Linked DNA regions of Homo sapiens: region 2 is linked to region 1. Evidence: promoter capture Hi-C in 16 types of primary human blood cells and fetal thymus (Javierre and others, 2016). All regions are on one chromosome and are shown on one strand. Each heading gives the region's core, a stretch centred on a gene start or on the middle of the fragment in contact. The rest is flanking DNA. Distances are from core to core; before and after follow the strand shown. Region 1 holds the start of PPCDC (phosphopantothenoylcysteine decarboxylase). Region 2 overlaps PML (PML nuclear body scaffold).

What was found. Contacts are between HindIII fragments. The CHiCAGO score rates a contact against its expected background, and 5 or more counts as called.
Region 2: a contact is called between a fragment that was not itself captured here and the fragment with the promoter of PPCDC in region 1, in 1 of 17 cell types (total CD4 T cells). The highest score is 5.6, in total CD4 T cells.

The regions. Positions count from the first base shown.
Region 1 is chr15:75,022,067-75,024,917 of GRCh38, forward strand. PPCDC (phosphopantothenoylcysteine decarboxylase) reads left to right here and starts at 1,524. Exons shown (of 6, transcript NM_021823.5): 1 at 1,524-1,560. The HindIII fragment of the contact is 7,713 bases long and covers 1-2,851 here.
Region 2 is chr15:74,034,488-74,037,380 of GRCh38, forward strand. PML (PML nuclear body scaffold) reads left to right here. Exons shown (of 9, transcript NM_033238.3): 7 at 1-43. Among named protein-coding and RNA genes, the nearest start is that of PML, 41 kb to the left of the region's middle. RefSeq lists an enhancer at 2,604-2,893. The HindIII fragment of the contact is 8,663 bases long and covers 1-2,893 here.

The DNA.
Region 1 (2,851 bases), core at 274-2,773:
ACTGCGGCTAAGGGCGGGGGTAGAGCAGAGGCCCCACCTCAGCTCAGGGCAGGGGACCCGCAGCTGGTTCAGCCACCTCAATGAATACAGAGGTTCCTGGGGCCTGTGAAGGCTAGAAAATGAAGGGGGCAGGGAAGCATGCCAGTGTGTGTTCTTCTGCCGCCTTCCCTTTGCCCATTTGATGCCTTCCACCTGGATCGCTATTGGGATCCTCTATCTAACCTCCTGGCTGTCCTTCAAGATTCATTTCAAGTCACTCCTTCAAGAAGGCTTTCCTGCCTAGAGGTGTTGCTTCCTCATGGAGGATCTTACCCTGTCATTTTCTGTGTCCCTGTTTGTCTCAAGAACAGGGACGCATCTGATTTATCTCTGTATCCTGTGCACCTAAAATAGAAGAGGCTTGGTAAATATTAAGTGCCACGAGCCCTCTTTTACTAAGGACCTGCCAACATGGGCCCCATTCACACTAATACCATGAAGATAGCCCTTTTCTATACTTCGTCATAAAAAAGTAATACACACACCCGGGCAGCAACTTCCACACAAACAACACATGTGCAAGGAGATCACCATTATTTCCAGCAAAATGCTCCCCAGGGCCGAGCGTGGTGGCTCACTCCTGTAGTCCCAGCACTTTGGGAGGCCAAGGTGGGCGGATTGTTTGAGCCTAGGAGTTTGAGACCAGCCTGGGCAATAGAGTGAGAACCCGTCTCTACAAAAAATACAAACATTAGTCTGGCATGATGGTGCACTCCTGTAGTCCTGGCTACTCCATAGGCTGAGATAGGAGGATGGCTTAAGCCCAAAAGGTGGAGGTTGCAGTGAGTGGAGATAGCACCACTGCGCACTCCAGTCTGGGTGACAGAGCCAGACCCTGTCTCAAAAAAAAAAAAAAAAACAAAAAAAAAAACAGCTCCCCAACAAGATAGCAGGCTACAACATGCATGTGATGAAGCTGATTTGAAGCGCTCAGTGAGAGGTATCTGCATCAAGTTGCAGGAGGAGAAGAGAGAAAGGAGAGATAATCATGTTCCTGAGGTCTCAGCCCTGGATCAGGAAATCATTGAAGTATTAACATATCCTGACATTAAGGAAATGCTGATGTTTTTGGACTTTGGCAGTCTGTCCAACCTGCAGGTCACTCAGCCAACAGTGGGGATGAATTTCAAAACGCCACGTGGAAGCTGTTTGAATCTTTTTGAGATACTGTAATATTTTCAATAAACCTGGGACAACAGCAAAAAAAAAAAAAAAAAAAAAAAGGCCCCAAGCAACAAGCAGTGTGTGTGGGGCTGATAGGAGTGAGGAAAGGAGGTCGGACAGTTATGCCAGCCCCTATCGAGAGTCCCAGCAATACAAAGAACAGGGCCAGGGTTTGCTCCAGGATTTCCCCAGTGGACTACAACTCCCGGAAGGCAGAGAAGTGGACTACAGCTCCCAGAAGGCTGCGCGACATACAGCCAGCCCGGTGCTCTCGTGAGGCGTGCCAGTCAGATTCCGCGGGAGAGCGGCAGAGATACCGCGATATTTGGGAGCGGCCCCGAGACGCGCCTGGCGCGGGTGAGCAGTGGAAGGGGGCTGGGAAGCTGGGTTCTCGCGGCGGCGCGGGAGGGGAGGTTCGGGGAGCTGTGTCCGCGAGCGTGGGTCCACGGCTGTCTGTGTGTGTCCTTATTTTCCCCTGTGTGCCCATGAAGCTCTGTTTGCGACTGTGCGTGGGTAGGCGGCCGTCCATCTGTGCGACCTCACTTTCCCGGCTGTACGGGTGGGGCCGCCTGGAGCAGGAGGGACCCCCGAGCCCTGAGTGGAGGGTTTGCATCTGTACCCGTCCAGCCCGACTTTGTGCTGCTCTGCGATTATTTGTCCAGTGTCGTTTAATCTAGTTTAAATGATGGCCGTGTCAGCTCCTCACACTGAACGCTTACCCGGGCTGCCCAAAGTACAAAGTGTATTTAAAAAGTTGGTAAAATTAAAAAAGGAAAGCCATGGGATGTTGGAAGTAGCCCTAGGCCTGCCAAAAAGTGCTGAGTGCTATTTAAAAATTAGGCCAAATCTTGTCAGAAAAGAACTTCCTGCTGTCCTTGAAGTATTTGGAAGCAGGTGCTAGATGGTGAGCAGGAGAGGTTGCCAAGTTGGGGAAGTGGTGGTTGTCCTGGAGCAGGGGTTTCCACATCTCTCACAGTGGCTGGGAAGTAGCAATTCGCAGTCACTGCCTTTCTAGTAGCCCACGTGTGTGAGTGTGTGTGTTAGATACATTTATCCCTCAGTATCCGCAGGGGATTGCTGTATACTTTTTTTTTTTGAGACAAGGTCTCATTCTGTGACCCAGGCTGGAGTGCAGTGGCAGGAACATGGCTCACTGCAGCCTCGACCTCCTGGGCTCAAGGGATCCTCCTGCCTCAGCCTCCTGTGTAGCTGGAACCACAGGCATAAACAACCATACCCGGCTAATTTTTATTTTATTTCATTTTTGTAGAGACAGGGTCTCACCATGTTGCCCAGGCTGGTCTCAAACTCCTGGCTCAAGCTATCCTCCTTCCTTGGCCTCTCAAAATGCTGGGATTACAGGTGTGAGCCACCACATCACCCTCCTGTATACTCTTTTTTCTTTTCTTTTTTTTTTTTTGAGTCAGGGTCTCACTCTTGTCTCCCAGGCTGGAGTGTAGTGGTGCAATCATAGCTCACTGCATCTTCGAACTCCCTGGGCTCAGATAATCCTCCCACCTCAGCCTCCCAGGTAGCTGGGACTGCAGGCACGTGCCACCACGCCCTCCATATAATTTAAATAATCTCTAGATTACTTATAAAACCTGATACAGTGTAAATGCTATGTAAATAGCTACACACTTTTTTT
Region 2 (2,893 bases), core at 230-2,729, 990 kb before region 1:
TGTGGTGATCAGCAGCTCGGAAGACTCAGATGCCGAAAACTCGGTGAGTGGCCCAGAAGTTCAGCCCAGGACTCCTGCCTCCCCCCATTTCAGGTCCCAGGGGGCACAGCCACAGCAGGTGACTCTCAGACTTGCCTTGCGCCTGGGGAATTTTCCAGTGAGGCATTGAGTCCCAAGCTGTGCTGAGGACAGTCTCCAAATGACAGCTGCATGCCTGGACCACCCCAGCCCTCCCACTACACCAGGGCCAGGAGCTCTTCTGAAATGCTGATAGCATGTGTCCAGAGCCCTGTCTCTTTTCTGGAATGTCCAAGACCTTTGTCTGGAGCTTCCTTATGCATTTTCTGTCCTCTAAGTCCTCAGTGAGGAGGGCTGGACAAGAATCCATTCCTTGGTTTATTACAGCCAGTGGGGGCCAGTGAAGGGGTGTCAGGCCACAGGGCAGCTATATAGGGGCCAAACAAGTGAGGTTTGACTCCATCCATGTAGAAAGATATATAAATCCATTCCACAGTGAAACAGGTGGCCTCGTGGGTAGTGACCCTTCTGTCCCTAGAGGTTTATTACTAGAGGCTGGACTATCACCTGTCCAGGGGAAAAGGGGATCTGAATAGAGTGAAAGGTTGGACTGGGTGGCCCCTGAGGTCTCTTCCAGCCCTCAGTCTGAGGTTCTGTATTGGAAAGTGCATGGAGCCCATGGAGACCGCCGAGCCACAGTCCTCGCCAGCCCACTCCTCGCCAGCCCACTCCTCGCCAGCCCACTCCTCGCCAGTCCAGTCTCTGCTGAGAGCACAAGGAGCCTCCAGCCTGCCCTGTGGCACATACCACCCCCCAGCTTGGCCTCCCCACCAGCCCGCTGAGCAGGCTGCCACCCCCGATGCTGAGCCTCACAGCGAGCCTCCTGATCACCAGGAGCGCCCTGCCGTCCACCGTGGGATCCGCTACCTGTTGTACAGAGCACAGAGAGCCATCCGCCTTCGCCATGCCCTCCGCTTGCACCCTCAATTGCATCGGGCCCCTATTCGGACTTGGTCTCCCCATGTGGTCCAAGCCAGCACTCCTGCCATCACAGGGCCCCTCAACCATCCTGCCAATGCCCAGGAACATCCTGCCCAGCTGCAAAGGGGCATCAGCCCACCCCACCGGATACGAGGGGCTGTGCGATCCCGCAGCCGCTCCCTCCGGGGCTCCTCCCATTTATCCCAGTGGCTCAACAACTTTTTTGCCCTCCCCTTCTCCTCCATGGCTTCCCAGCTTGACATGTCTTCCGTGGTGGGGGCAGGGGAAAGCAGAGCCCAGACTCTTGGAGCAGGTGTTCCCCCTGGGGACTCTGTCAGAGGCTCCATGGAGGCCTCTCAAGTCCAAGTGCCTCTGGAAGCCTCTCCAATTACATTCCCACCACCCTGTGCCCCAGAAAGGCCCCCCATCAGCCCAGTCCCAGGCGCCCGTCAAGCAGGCCTCTGAGAGTGCTACCCTTCTCTTGTAACCTTGCAGCCAACACCCCTGCCCGGCCCCTGAGCTGCCTCCTCCAGCCCATGCTCTTACAGGCCCTGCACAGAGTAGCACTCATTAATTCTTGGTTAAGGAATGAATCAACGAATGAATGGCTATGCATGGACCTCTGGGCAGGGAGACCTGGGTCTTCTCTGGCTGAGAGGGGAAGGCTAAGGCATGGCTGAGATTCAAGCCACCATTCCAGGCCTCTTTGCCCAAGAAAGAAACTTCTGTCACCCTTGCACTCTCCTGTATTCTGAGTCCCTGGCCAATAGCACAGCCTTCCATGCCCCGACCCCCACCCCAAGCCTCTCCACTAGGCCTCTGCCAGGATCTAAGCCCATGAGCACAGGGACTGGCTATCCCAAGACCTGGCAGATGTGGCTGCTCAATAAACACTTGTTGAACCATCACCCTTGCGAACCCTTATTCCACGACCATCGCGTTCTCCGATGGATCCAGCTCCTCCCTGCAGGCTGTTCTCTCTTCCCTATGCTGGAACTCAGTTCTCCTCTGGGGATACCATGTCCCCTCTTCCTCCCACACTCATGGGCATCAGAGGTGGGAGGTAGGGTCAAGGCCCCCTGCTTCCTGGACTGTTCCAGCCCCTTCCTGGCCGTCTGGTAAGATCCTCTGTCCCTCTCAGGGTGGGCCCCATGCTCCCCAGCTCATCCCAGACACCCACCTGCCCACCCTCATTGAGGGCAGACGTGAGCATTCACCTCCCAGATTTCTTCTCCCTGCTCAGGTCCTGCCTTCCTCCTGAGTGACTTCTATTTCCACCCACCTGCCCGCCACTCCTTAACCTCTCAGGGGTTGTCACCCCATTCCCCCAGACAGCTGCCTGCCCCGTGGCCGTGCCCTGCACCTTGCCATCACCGAGCACTGTCGGTCCCTCAGCCGGTCCTCTCAGACTCTGACCGCAGCCTCCTGTTCCTTGAGCTCTCAGTCCTACCTTCGCCTCCCTCCAGCCCCGCGCACTCCCCATTTCATCCCATCTTTCATCAGAATTGCAGCTCCCTGCCCAGCAGAAAATCCTGGAAGGACTCAGGAGCTTGTCGCCTCTGTGCTGCCACCTGGAGACCGAGATCTGCAGGAGAAAGGCCTGGGAAAACTATGAGTGGTTGCCTGTGACTGCTAAGGGCTCCTTGGTGCTCCGCCCAGCATGTCCTTTTGCTCTGCAGGGCAGCCCCCGCCTGCCTTTCTTCACTGGGCCCTTGTCCCAGCCTCACCCTCAGCTGATGGCGGCACCTTCTGCTCCAGGGAGAAAACAGGAGCTCTCCAATGGCATAGGGACAGTTGACATCTTGCTATTTACAGATCCCCATCGCACCCCTTCCCTGCCCTCGTTAGGGTGGAAGGGATGTCCACCTGCCTCCAGGACTCACCCTGTGTCCTG